Linked DNA regions of Homo sapiens: all the other regions are linked to region 1. The links are contacts of gene promoters, found by promoter capture Hi-C in blood cells and fetal thymus (Javierre and others, 2016). All regions are on one chromosome and are shown on one strand. Each heading gives the region's core, a stretch centred on a gene start or on the middle of the fragment in contact. The rest is flanking DNA. Distances are from core to core; before and after follow the strand shown. Region 1 holds the start of PLK3 (polo like kinase 3). Region 2 has its middle 4.4 kb from the start of LINC01144. Region 3 has its middle 28 kb from the start of LINC01144. Region 4 overlaps ZSWIM5 (zinc finger SWIM-type containing 5).

Region 1 (3,406 bases), core at 391-2,890:
GACTGTGGCCCAGGCCAGGGTGTGAGGGGAAGATGGAGCCAAGGGGATAGATATCAGAGCTATTTGGGAGGTAAAATTGGCACAAATTGGGTACTCAGCAAATATTTGTTGACTTTCCTGGCTACTCTTTCTAAAGTAGGCTCTTCATTTGCTCTTCTGTTTATTCTTCCTTCATAGCACTTTTCACAGCCTGCAATTACCTTGTTTATCTGCTTGCCTATTGTCTGTTTCCATCAAGCAGAATGTAAACTAAATGAGGGCTGCAAGCTTGATTAGTTTTATTCGAGATAGTGTCCAGCACTTAGCAGATGCTCTCAATAAATCTTTGAGGAATGGCATGGTAATTGATTGGCTGGCACAGAGGGAGGGCAGAGAGGTGAGAGACAAGGCCAGGAGGCCTGTGGTCCTGGGCCTCTGTCTCTGGCCCTGGGAAGGGTGGGCATTGCGCAGGGGTCTAGGGGTCCACGTGGTCCAGAGACTAGCTGCCCAAGTGCCCGTGTCTAGCATTTGAGAAAATGCAATTCCCAGCCAGGCAAGGTGGCTCACGCCTGTAATCCCAGCACTTTGGGACGCCGAAGCGGGTAGATCACCTGAGGTTGGGAGTTCCAGACCAGTCTGACCAACATGGAGAAACCCCGTCTCTACTTAAAAAAAAAAAAATACAAAATTAGCCGGGTGTGATGGCGCATGCCTGTAATCCCAGCTGCTCGGGAGGCTGAGGCAGGAGAATCGCTTGAACCTGGGAGGCAGAGTTTGCGATGAGCCAAGATCGCGCCATTGCACTCCAGCCTAGGCAACAAGAGCGAAACTCTGTCTCAAAAAAAAAAAAAAGAAAGAAAGAAAGAAAAAAGAAAATCCAATTCCCATTCACTTTCTGGCCTCTGGCTGCTGACCCAGGCCCGGGGGTATTTTCAGAGGAAGGGAATTGCGGACCCCGGAGGAACCCGAAATTTGCCCCTCAAGAGTGTAGAAGTGGGTAGCGGAAGATGTGGCCTGGAGCATGGTAAAAGCCTTGAAATTCCAGACTCTGCTTGACTCCTAAACCTGGCAAGGCAGCCCTCGGGCCAGGCAAGCCAGGCGCGAGACTGTGCCTTCCTTCCAGGCCCTAAAGAGGGCAGCACTGGGCCGGGCCCCGGGCGAGGGCGAGGGACACACGCGGTCCGGCACACTGAAAGGGGAGTGTCGGGTAACATGCCCGGGCAAAAGCGAGCGCCGCCCCTGCCTCTCCGCTGCTGGCTGGAACGCTGATCTATCTAGTTGCTGGGGAGACGCCCCCAGATGCCCGGGCCCCACTCGGACTTCAGCACACATCCCGAAGGATGGGGAAAGAAAGAGGCCCCCACGAGCGGGACTCGCAGTGGCCAAGGAGGGGTGAGAGGCGGACAGGGATCAGCTGGCCCCTGCGGCCTGGTTGCACCTGCATGGTGACTAGCTGCCGGGCTGCGCCCCGGGGCGCGGCGAGGAGGCGGGGTCTGGCAGTGCGTTGGGTGGGGGAGGAGCTTCTGGGTGATGTAAGGCCGGGAATGGGAGTGGCCTCTCCTCGACTCGCTGCTAGGAAGGGGGCGGGACTCTCGGTGACCAGACGCCGGGGAGGGGGCAGGCGTTCATTGATAAAACGCTGGGCTCCCCTGGGCGCCAGCGCAGCGTAGCAAATCCAGGCAGCGCCACGCGCGGCCGGGGCCGGGCGGAACCGAGAAGCCGGGACCGCGCTGCGACGCGCCGGCCGCATGGAGCCTGCCGCCGGTTTCCTGTCTCCGCGCCCCTTCCAGCGTGCGGCCGCCGCGCCCGCTCCCCCGGCCGGGCCCGGGCCGCCTCCGAGTGCCTTGCGCGGACCTGAGCTGGAGATGCTGGCCGGGCTACCGACGTCAGACCCCGGGCGCCTCATCACGGACCCGCGCAGCGGCCGCACCTACCTCAAAGGCCGCTTGTTGGGCAAGGTGGGCCGAGGGACGTCCGCGGGGTGGTGATGGTGGAGGTGGGGGTCCCGGCCGGCCTCTTTTCTGGCGCCGAGCAGGGCGTGGGCACTTGACCCCCAACGCGGGGACGCCCGCGGGCCAGACTCGGCCCCCCTGGAACAACCAGCCTGATGCCCCCTCTTCACAGGGGGGCTTCGCCCGCTGCTACGAGGCCACTGACACAGAGACTGGCAGCGCCTACGCTGTCAAAGTCATCCCGCAGAGCCGCGTCGCCAAGCCGCATCAGCGCGAGAAGGTGGGTCCAGGCTCAGCGGGCGAGGGGTGGGGTGGGGACGGTGGCATGGGAACCATGGAAGGATGACGACTCCGCGCCCTCATCGCAGATCCTAAATGAGATTGAGCTGCACCGAGACCTGCAGCACCGCCACATCGTGCGTTTTTCGCACCACTTTGAGGACGCTGACAACATCTACATTTTCTTGGAGCTCTGCAGCCGAAAGGTGAAAGATGGTGATTCCCGCAGGGATGAGAGTGAGGGAGAGAAGACAGTCTTTTTTTTTTTTTTTTTTTTTTTTGAGATGGAGTCTTGCTCTGTTGCCCAGGCTGGAGTGCAGTGGCGCGATCTCGGCTCACTGCAATCTCTGCCTCCCGGGTTCAAGCAATTCTCCTGCCTCAGCCTCCTGAGTAGCTGGGATTACAGGCATGCACCACCACGCCCGGCTAATTTTTGTATTTTTAGTAGAGACAGGGTTTCACCCTGTTGGTCAGGCTGGTCTCAAACTCCTGACCTTGTGATACACCTGCCTTGGCCTCCCAAAGTGCTGGGATTACAGGCGTGAGCCACTACACCCAGCCGAGAAGACAGTCTTAAGACCCAAAGCTGGGGCCCTGTTTCTTCCTCAGGGAGCACAGATGGAGGGGGAGGGGGAGGGAGGGCTCACCAGGGGCTGAGGCAGTGGCTCTCTGCAGTCCCTGGCCCACATCTGGAAGGCCCGGCACACCCTGTTGGAGCCAGAAGTGCGCTACTACCTGCGGCAGATCCTTTCTGGCCTCAAGTACTTGCACCAGCGCGGCATCTTGCACCGGGACCTCAAGTTGGGTGAGACTCCTGAGCCTGGAGGATGGGAGGTTGGGGAGGGAGGGAGGGAGGGAGGAAGGAAAGAATCTGACACACCTCTCTTGCCCCATCTAGGAAATTTTTTCATCACTGAGAACATGGAACTGAAGGTGGGGGATTTTGGGCTGGCAGCCCGGTTGGAGCCTCCGGAGCAGAGGAAGAAGTGAGTTTTGAGGAAAGGGGCCCTGTGTGTGATACAGATGACATGCGTGATAGACAGTGCATATGTATGTGGGAGGCAAGGTGACTGCCTGATGTGTGCATGAGATAAATGGGAAGGGATGATGGGCTGTTCATGCATGTGTGAAGGTGGAGGTGGCAGCCTGTGTTACCGAGACCGGTGGAGAGGGGGAGGATCCTATAGGTGTATGAC
Region 2 (3,406 bases), core at 364-2,863, 510 kb after region 1:
GCATCCTGCCCACAAGCAGCACATAGCAATCAAAAAACCTGGGCCACAGCTCAGTTCCTCCTATTAAGAGAGAAAAAAAAATTGGGAAACAATATAAGAATGAGGAGGAAACAAAGAGAATGACCCCCTTTCCAGCACTCCATAGGTTGTATGGCACATCTACTTGCCAAAGTTTATGTAAAATGGAAATAATATGGTCTTTGTGCACATTTACATTAAGGAAAAAGAGCCCTAAGATCGACCTGCAAATTATAGAGTTCCTAAGTGCTCTTTTTCTCGATTTTTTTCTTTTCTGCCTGCTCTAAATCTGCTGTTATTTTTCTATTAAGATAAAAACCACTGCATCCAACAAGTTCTTTTTGCAGGGTGGTGAATTTGTGTTTATCTCATGGCTAAAAGTTCTGAAGTAAAAGCTATAGGATATTTGTTTATGTGTGTGTCTATGTGTGTGTGTATATATATTTAAAAGGCCTTTATAATTTCTACGATTTTATGCTTAATTGGCAATTAAATCTGTTTTAATTTCCCTCTAGCACACCAAACGTTTTCTCTCCGACCTTATAATGTAAATTTTGCTATTTGACTTTCACCTAAGTTGTTTCCTTTAATATGCAAATTTAAGGCTATTTAGCTGAAAACTGCCCAGGGTTATGAAATAGGTCATCAAGAATCTGAAAGTCTAATATAGGGGAAAAAAAGGTTTTCATAAATCTGTAAAATGTAGTTCTAAAGCATGCCTAATATGTCTGTGTATTTATGTGTTGTGTACACAGTGTTTCACTACTAAAAATATATAAAAGAGTGCTAATTAATTGGCTTAAAACAATGAAAAGCGCTTAAATCATATACTACAAAAGACTAGTGAAATGCTCTTTCAAGTTTATGTAACTTAAGTAAAATCTTTAATAAATAAGCTTGCTTTAAAATTAATGGTAAGGTAATATTAGAAACATCTTAAGAATTGCCCGCCTACATTTTTCTTTGCATGTATTAATGAAGCAATTTCATACTCATCCCTGCCAAATATTATAAGGTGTCAAAATTTGGCATAGGGGTAACAAAACTATAAACGCAGCCCAAGACAGAATGATCTTGCTTGTGTAACCTTTAACAAATAAGATGTTGATATTGGTTTAATGAATGTAGTTATATCTTGAATTATTTAGTAAAATTACCATAACCTCTAATTTTGTGGCTTTAGGCAGTCTAATCCACAGATGGTAGGTAGGTTTGTTTTGGGAAAGGACTGTTACCATCTTTGTTTCAAAGCTAAACTATAAACTAAATTTCTCCCAAAGTCCAGGAATGAACAACGACAGCTTGGAGTTTAGAAGCAAGATGGAGTCAGTTAGGTCATATCTTCCTCACTGTCTCAGTTATAATTTTGCAATGGCAGTTTCATAACTTTATTTATTTTTTAATTTTATTTTTGGAGATGGCGTCTCACTCTGTCACCCAGGCTGGAGTGCAGTGGCACAATCTCGGCTCACTGCAACCTCTGCCTCCCTGGTTCAAGGGATTCTCTTGCCTCAGCCTCCCTAGTAGCTGGCATTACAGGCATCCGCCACCACACCCAGCTAATTTTTGTATTTTTAGGAGATATGGGGTTTCACCATGTTGGCCAGGCTGGTCTTGAACTCCTTACCTCCGGTGATCTGCCCACTTCGGCCTCCCAAAGTGCTGGATTACAGGCATGAGCCACCACGCCCAGCGGTTTCATAACTTTAAATCATGACTTTTGGGCCTGGGTGCAGTAGCTCACGCCTATAATCCCAGCACTTTGGGAGAATGAGGCAGGCAAATCACCTGAGGTCAAGAGTTCAAGACCAGCCTGACCACCATAGAGAAACCCCGTCTCTACCAAAAATACAAAATTAGCCAGCTGTGGTGGCATGTGCCTGTAATCCCAGCTACTGGAGATTACAGTAGATTACAGGTGCCTGGGCAACAAGAGCGAAATTACATCTCAAAAAAAAAAAAAAAATCATGACTTGTGGTTTTCATAATCTAGGTAAACCATTAAAATAAAAAAATTAGGTAAATGTAATGGGATAAATACTGGCAGACAAATTTGTCTTAATTTATAATATAAAGTTAAATTAATAGATATTTCATTATTTGGGTATTTTCCAATAAAATATATAATATAGGAAAACATTCTTGATTTTAAAAAGTGTGAACTTTCTTAAAAAAGGTGAAAAAGTTTTGTCTAATTCAAAGATTATTTTAAGGTTGTGAATAAAACAAGGTAAAAGAAACCAGGAAATAAAAAGAGATGTAAAGACAGAAAAAAAAAAGGTTTTTTATGGTAAGAAAGCTTAAAGAGAAATAATGTTATACGAGAAAGAATCTTGTATGGTGGCTGCGAGCAGTGGCTTATGCCTGTAATCCCAGCACTTTGGGTGGCCAAGGTGGGTGGATCACCTGAAGTAAAGAGTTCTGGACCAGCCTGACCAACATGGTGAAACCCCATCTCTACTAAAAATACAAAAATTAGCCAGGCATGGCAGCATGCGCTTGTAGTCCCAGCTACTCAGGAGGCTGAGACAGGATAATTGCTTGAATCCATGAGGTGGAGATTGCAGTGAGCCGAGATTTCACCACTGTACTCCAGCCTGGGCAACAGAGCAAGGCTCCATCTCAAAAAAAAAAAAAAAAAGCACTTACTAAAAAAAAAAAATATTGAATGGTAAATTTAGTCCTAAAATAAAATGACTAATTGTTTAAGAAGGAGGGATGTTCAGCTCAAGGCAACCTCTGCCTCCCGGGTTCAAGCGATTCTCCTGCCTCAGCCTCCTGAGTAGCTGGGATTACAGGCGCACGCCACCATACCCAGCTAATCTTTGTATTTTTAGTAGAGACGGGATTTCATGATGTTGGTTAGGCTGGTCTCGAACTCCTGACCTCAAGTGATCCACCTGCCTTGGGCTCCCAAAGTGCTGGGATTATAGGCATGAGCCACCACGACCAGCCCAAAAATTTTTTTAATTGAGGTTACTATATCCATGTGTCTTCTTGTGTGTACTTCTAAAGTCCTTGTGACCTTGAGTTACAGGGCTTTGACTCCTGGGTCAAAAAGGACACCAAGTCCTGCTAAATCTTAAACACTGACAGCAATTAAAGCCTCATCAGGCTCCATAGAAGATGCCGGTCAAAATAAACTGCATTTCTGAGACACAGGGCCAAAAATTAAAGCCGTTCAACTCCTTAAGGCCCAGGGACTATCATGGAAGAGGTGGGCACGTGAGATTCTAAGGGCTGATTTTGAAAGATAAAGTTCAATTTCTCTATATATTAATCACTAACGTCAAAGGCACTTGAATGTGCTGATGAAAGACTAGCACATGGGCCCCTGTGTCAGATTAAAAGAGACTCTCCTGCCTCTTGAAGCATTAACTGACTCCTT
Region 3 (3,406 bases), core at 421-2,920, 480 kb after region 1:
GTCTTGCTATGTTGCCTAAGCTGGTCTTGAACTCCTGGGCTCAAGCAATCCTCCTGCCTTGGCCTCCCAAAGTGCTGGGATTACAAGCGTGGGCCACTGTGCCTGGCCTGTGGACATTTTTTAACTACCACAACTATTTTGTGTAAGTACTGGGATAAATGCTGGGAGACCCGGTATATAAAACAGGCATGGTCCCTCTGAAACTTACAGACAAGAAAGAGGAGAGAGGCTTTAATCAAATGAACACACAAATAAATGTAAAATTACAACTGTGATAAGTTCTTGAAGGAATGATACACAATGTGATGAGAGAGAATGGTGGGGGATCTAGGGTATATCCAAAGAAGTGATGTTTTAGTCAAGATCCGAAGGAAGACTAAGGGCATCCCAGGCAGAGAGCATGTGCCTCCTATGGTAGGGAAGAACGTGGCATGATGGAGGGTCTAAAAGGAGGCTATTGGGTCTGCAGCAGAGTGCAATGAAGACTGGAGAGGGAGGCAGGGACCCCCCACAAACTGGGCCCTGGGTCTGAGTGACCATGTGACCCTGGGACAGATGCTCTGGGCCACCTAACCCCCTCTTTTTATATTGCACCCACATATGAAGCTGCAGGAGTCCAGTACCCTGTTGTTACCAAATCACTACAGGAAGACTCTCAGCCACACCTGGCCTGTGTGTACCTCTTTCACCAAGGAATGCTTAAGATAAATTCCACCCAAAGGTGTCACCTTACCTTTCTAACTCTCCTTGTAACTCTCTACCTGTTCTATACATCCTCTCAACTGACCCAGCCTCCTTCTTTGTTTTGGTCCCCAATCATTCTTCTGTATCTTCTTGAACTTCCACTCTAAGACCTACAAACTCCCTCAGATACCTACATCCCCAAGGTTTTCTTAGAGTGGAACCTGCACTTCTATCTAAACAAAAATCTGGAGATGATTCTGGGCAGTTGGCAGAGTAGGAAGAACCAAGAATATATCTCCCCACCTAGACAACAATTGCACTGTCAGATTCTGTCTGATGTAACAGTTTTGGAAATCCAGAGTCTATTGAAAGCTTGCAACTTCCAGGGGAAGACTTGGTGATAAATTGTAGTTAATTTCAGTAAATTTCAACTGTTACCACAGGAGCAGCTACCCATCTCCCACCAACAAGGAGAATGATATGATGTGTTCCTGGAGCAACCTGCACATAGCTTGTGGGAGCCAGGATGGCTCTGTTCTCCAAATATCAGGGATCTGTGCTCTGATTGCTGATTACTGCTTCTGGTAACAGAAGTGCAGAGAGTCAAAGGGCCATTGTTGTTGCACCTCCCTCCATTGCCACAAGTCCCTCCTCTATAGTTGAAGTGACTTCCTGGGGATTTAAAGGCCCAGGATCCTTTTCTTCTCTCTTTCATTTTTTCCCCTTTTGGGAGCCAGACACTGAAGACTAGGACATTAAAAAACAATTGCATATAAAGTGGTTTTTGTATGTTAAAATATATAAATTAAAATTTAAAAGTATACATGCCTAGGAAAAGGTGCAGTTTCAGAAAAGACCTGAGAAGACCTTAAGTTTTCATCTCAGGCTGATCTTTGGCACAAACACTGCATATAAAATTTAAAAAATAAATAAATAAACAAAAACAATCACAAATGCCAGCAAACCCTGAGGAGAATCTGATTTCCAGAGTTTCCACATTAGATGCAAATGTCCAGTTTTCAACAATAAAATCACAAAACATTTTTTAAAAGCCAGGAAAATATGGCCCAAAGGAAAAAATAAATCAACAGAAACTGTCCCCGAAAAAGACTTAATGGGTGATGTACTAGAGAAAGACTTTATTTTATTTTATTAGAGATAGGGTCTCATTGTCTGTCACCCAGACCACAGTGCAGTGGCCCTTATTTTTTTATTTTTATTTTTATTGCGGAGACAGAGTGTTGCTATGTTGTCCAGGCTGGTCTCAAACTCCTGGCCTCAAGTGATCCTCCTGCCTCAGCTCCCAAGGTGCTAGGATTATAGGCATGATCCACCGCACCCCACCTGTAGTGGATCTTCACAGGTGTGATCACAGTGCGCTACAGCCTTGAACTCCTGGGCTCAAGTGATTCTCCCTCTTCAGCCTCCTGAGTAGCTCGAATTACAAGTATGAGCCACTGTGCTGGCAAGAAAGACTTTAAAACAACAGTTTTAAATATGTTCAAAGAACTAAAGGAAGATGTGGAGAAAGCCAATAAAACAATGTATGAACAAAATAGTAATATAAATAGATTTTTTTTAATCTACAAAAAGTAAATTATGAAGCTTAAAAGTGCAATAACTGAAATGAAAAATTCATTAGAGGAATTCAAAGGCAGATTTAAGCAGGCAGAAGAGTCAGTGAACTGAAGGTGGGACAATGAAAATTAGTGAGTCTGGAAAACAGAAAAAAAAAGAAAAGTTGAAGGAAAGTGAACAAAGCCTAAGGGAACTCTGGGACACCATGAAGCTGACCAGCATACATATTGTGGGATTCTCAGAAGAAGAAGAGAGAGAAAGGGAGAAGGAGAGAATATTTGAATAAACAATGACAAAAAACATCCCAAATTTGATTAAAGACATGAATGTAAACATCCAAGAAGCTCAATGATATCCTAGTAAGATGCATTCAAGGAGACCCACACTGAGACATTATAATCAAAATTTCAACAGCCAAATACAAAATGAGAATCCTGAAACAGCAAGAAACAGCTCATCACAGGGGATCCTCAATAAGGTTATCAGCACATATTTCATTAGAAACTTCAGAGGCCAGAAGGCAGTGGACTGATATATTCAAGGTGCTAAAAGAAAAGAACTGTACACCAATAATTCTATATCTGTCAAAACTGTCCTTCAGCCAAGCATGGTGGCTCATGCCTGTAATCTTAACACTTTGGGAGGCTGAGGTGGGCAGATCACCTGAGGTCAGGAGTTCGAGACCAGCCTAGCCAATACGGTGAAACCCCATCTCTACTAAAAATACAAAAATTAGCTGGCTGTAGTAGCGGGTGCCTATAATCCCAGCTACTTGGGAGGCTGAGACAGGAGAATTGCTTGAACCTGGGGGGCAGAGGTTACAGCAAGCTGAGATCATGCCCCTTCACTCCAGCCTGGGCAAAAGAGCAAAACTACGTCTCAAAACAAACAAACAAACAAACTGTCCTTCAAAAGTGAGGGAGAAATTAAGATATTCCTAGATGAACAAAAGCTGAGGGAGTTAATTACCACTAGACCAGCCTTGCCAGAAATGCTTAAGGGAGTCCTGCAAGGTGAAATGAAGAAACACTAGACAATAACTTGAAGGTATATGAAGAAATAAATACTTCATTAAAAGTAAATATGTAGGCAATTATAACAAGCTAGTATTATTGTAACAATAGTTCATAACTCCACTTTTTGT
Region 4 (3,406 bases), core at 626-3,125, 400 kb after region 1:
TCAGAAAAAAAAAAGATAATGTGATTTAAAACTTGAAAAATTTCTATGCTAAAAAGCACACCCGCTTAAAGGAATGCAGCTGCCTTCTGTGATGGAATACCTTAAATATCAATAAAGTTATTTTTCTCCACATGAAATTTTATTATAATTTTATTCATTCTAACTCACATATGCCACAGTTTTTTCAATGTAGATATCTTTTGTTCCCCCAAACAATATAGATTAAAACAAATTACATATAAAAATCAACAAACTGTAATACTTGTTACTGATAAATTTCATAAAAGTTATACTACAGAAAAATTTCACAGACCTGTTTATTGATGATATACAAGTGTACACAATTTTAAACTTACTACTTGATGTTTAAGTTATAGATAACTTCCTGAAATGGGCCACTTTTTATATTTCCATTATTGACTTTGTAATTGTACCTCTTCCACATAAGGTAATACTTAGCATTCTGGTTCTAGTCTTGAAGACTTCAAGAACAAATCATGTACTTATTAAAAAATGTGTAGACTAAAACTATGGGGTTTTGTTGAAGTCACCTGTCAAAATCTACTTAAAATTTCTGGATAAATACGTACATAACTAAGATGTACCAGGCGCAGAAGGCCCCTGCATGCCTTTAGCCAATTTTTAAAACTAAATATCCAAGTAAATATAACATTTCTGTGTTTAAGTGAGAAAAACTGTTAATTTTTTTTCCTTCAATCAATTCAGATTTTCCTGAGAAAAAGCAAAGCTTCTTTAAGTTTTACCAAATACAAAGAAATCAATTTAAAATACAGTGGATAGCAAAAGGGTCAAAATGTTAAAACCGTTAGTAAATTATAGGTGTCTTATTCTTATGCCATCTGCAGACTCCTGAATAAGTATTTTCCCAAAGTTTATACTACTACTATATCCATGGGCTTCTGAAACAAGTTAAAAATGCAGATGCTGAAAACATTCATATGTTTTCAATAGAGTTCATACTCTAACCTTTACAATACTGAGATCAGACTGTAAGTCTATTGACATAGCTTTAAACTTACAGACATCCCTGAAGAGACTAATTTGCAATTTTCCCCTTTTAAAAGGAATACTACTTCTGATGCAGTACTTACATAAAAGAAATGTATCCTTTGAGCATAGCTGGAAAAGTTTTAGTTTTGATTTAAAATCTGAAGTATCCAATTTTTAACCAGAATTCATGACTTCCCATTACCAGATTTTGTGTGGAAAGTAATTAGAAATTACAGAATTTAATCTACCTACTCTTTCCACAAGTTTTTGTTTGTTTTTAATTTATTTGCCTTGAAGGCTTTTTTGTTTGTGCTTTCTTTTTTCATTTAAATTCCCTTTTTCATTAAATTCCCTTATGACTCTTTTTCTTAAAAAGATGTTGTCACAGAAATACCCCAACTTTCTGTTCTTCCTAAAGCATCGGCCTTCAGTAACTTCCCAAATCTGAGGTTCTATCGTTTAGAAACAGTAAGGAAATATGTAGAATTCTTAATTAGCATCACTTAGTAATTAATTGAGTTTGAAGTGCAGTTATAAACTGAAAAACACGATTACTATCTTGGTATATACGAATCACTTCCTTACTCATCTCTTGGCAATACTTTTAGAAAGCCTACTCTCTAGATTAAGTCATTTACTTATAACTTTAAGTTTAGGAGATGGGGGATGAGTCTCTATTAAAGGTGGTTCATACCAAAATACAGAACTCAAAAAGATGCAGAACAGGCTATCCTTCTCTCCTATACTTATTAACCTAAATTAAGGTCAGAATAATAAAAATTACACAGCTCGTGGTTCTCAAGTAGCATAAACTTAAAGTGATAAATTTATTCACCGGTCTTCGTCTTTGAAATCCAAAGTCAATCAGAAAACATGTTTGTTTATATGTGTCTTTTCTCAAGTCAATCAGAAAACATGTTTGTTTATATGTGTCTTCTGAAACTACCATAAGAGAGCCTATAACTCCAGAACCACATTAACTTTCATATTATAAAGGGGAAATATCTGATTTAAACATGATCTAGATTACCCAAAATATCCTATTTCATTTGGAAAGTGACACTTTAGTTACTTTAAAAATAGACACCTCTTTAAAACTCTTCCTCTCTTTTATTTGTTCCCTCAAGTTTGAAAATTCTTCCTCATCCATCTCTTACTATAAAATGACCACTTAAATTGATCCTTTTCCATTTAAAATATTTGAAACAAGAATCTTAAAAGTTAAATAAATGATCGAAACTCAGAAAAATTAAAATTTACAGACTAATAGGAAAATGATTGTATTTATTTTCATGTTTTCAGTGTTTCAGTATTAAAGCTGTACACCTTAATTACATATTTATTCAAGTCACTCTTTCAAAAATATACACAAATAAAGGACTAACCTCTTTCAAATAAACAAAACTTGCTCAAGCCACTGTCACTATATTCTGGCACAGGATAAATTTACATTTCACATTTGCAAAACAAGTTGTGGTATGCTGTTGTTTTGGTTAGAAACACAGGAATCAATGATTCTCAATAACCAGAAGCAGATTACTTTATATGAAACAGCACGATTCAAAGAAAAACATTTTTCAAATGTTTTCTCCAGGTTTTACCTGGAGAGCTAGATGTCTGGGGTTTGTGTCTTTCTGTGCTTGTTTAATTCTAAAAACAACCTCCCTTCAACTCCTTTCAAAAATCAGTATTTTCTTCAATTAATACGAGCATATAGTGTACAATAAAACGCATAAAGATATGTACTTCCAGAATGCCATAATAATCCAAATAGAAAAAAATTCGTGTTTTAATTTTCCACATAGCAAAGTCAATGTTAATCATTTTTTTATCCTTCTCCTTAACCATTCCACAAATCAGAAGCACTGTATTTATATATTTAATAAGATTAACAAACTGACTAGAAGCTCCGGAGGAGTAAAGGAAGAAATCATTTGTATAATATATTTTTCCATAACAAAAAGATAAAAGCAAATAGGACTTGTTAAATGAGAAGCTTTTGAAAAACCCAGCGTGACCAGCTTTTGATTTACCCCAGTCTGACAAGGAAGAGAGACCCCACCCCCACTCCAGATTGTATGGCTTTTTTTTTTTTTTTCCTTGGGTGGGGGTGTGGAGGAGAAGCTGTCACATTTCCATCTTCGGTTATTGTTAGTCCGCAGCCTAGATTCCCAAGCATCACCGGTCCAGGGGAAAAATCCTAACGCAGACAATTAAAACTGTCTGAAACATGCAGTATTTTGTTGGGGCTTTTTTCCCAGTGTTAATTTCATCGAGACTCAATCGGCTAGGGCTATAGATTGCCTCTGACAGTCTGTCCCTCAAACGCTCCCTCTAAAACCGCTTGTTCCAGATTTACTAACAATCCTCTCCTCTCCAAACTTAAATTAGGACA

The links. Contacts are between HindIII fragments. The CHiCAGO score rates a contact against its expected background, and 5 or more counts as called.
Region 2: a fragment that was not itself captured here is called in contact with the fragment with the promoter of PLK3 in region 1 in 17 of 17 cell types (naive CD4 T cells, erythroblasts, naive CD8 T cells and 14 more); the score reaches 24.5 in naive CD4 T cells.
Region 3: a fragment that was not itself captured here is called in contact with the fragment with the promoter of PLK3 in region 1 in 1 of 17 cell types (M1 macrophages); the score reaches 5.4 in M1 macrophages.
Region 4: a contact is called between a fragment that was not itself captured here and the fragment with the promoter of PLK3 in region 1, in 1 of 17 cell types (non-activated CD4 T cells). The highest score is 5.4, in non-activated CD4 T cells.

What each region holds. Positions count from the first base shown.
Region 1 is chr1:44,798,737-44,802,142 of GRCh38, forward strand. It overlaps PLK3 (polo like kinase 3), which reads left to right and starts at 1,641. Exons shown (of 15, transcript NM_004073.4): 1 at 1,641-1,937; 2 at 2,104-2,211; 3 at 2,300-2,416; 4 at 2,886-3,015; 5 at 3,109-3,196. The coding sequence starts at 1,728. RefSeq lists enhancers at 645-1,313, 998-1,057, 1,108-1,497, 2,268-2,317 and a silencer at 1,598-1,877. The HindIII fragment of the contact is 10,835 bases long and covers 266-3,406 here.
Region 2 is chr1:45,306,612-45,310,017 of GRCh38, forward strand. No RefSeq gene overlaps it. Among named protein-coding and RNA genes, the nearest start is that of LINC01144, 4.4 kb to the left of the region's middle. The HindIII fragment of the contact is 1,403 bases long and covers 913-2,315 here.
Region 3 is chr1:45,273,975-45,277,380 of GRCh38, forward strand. No RefSeq gene overlaps it. Among named protein-coding and RNA genes, the nearest start is that of LINC01144, 28 kb to the right of the region's middle. The HindIII fragment of the contact is 1,233 bases long and covers 1,055-2,287 here.
Region 4 is chr1:45,202,031-45,205,436 of GRCh38, forward strand. The region is part of intron 1 of ZSWIM5 (zinc finger SWIM-type containing 5); the gene reads right to left. Among named protein-coding and RNA genes, the nearest start is that of ZSWIM5, 2.9 kb to the right of the region's middle. RefSeq lists a silencer at 1,853-2,053 and an enhancer at 3,153-3,406. The HindIII fragment of the contact is 2,259 bases long and covers 747-3,005 here.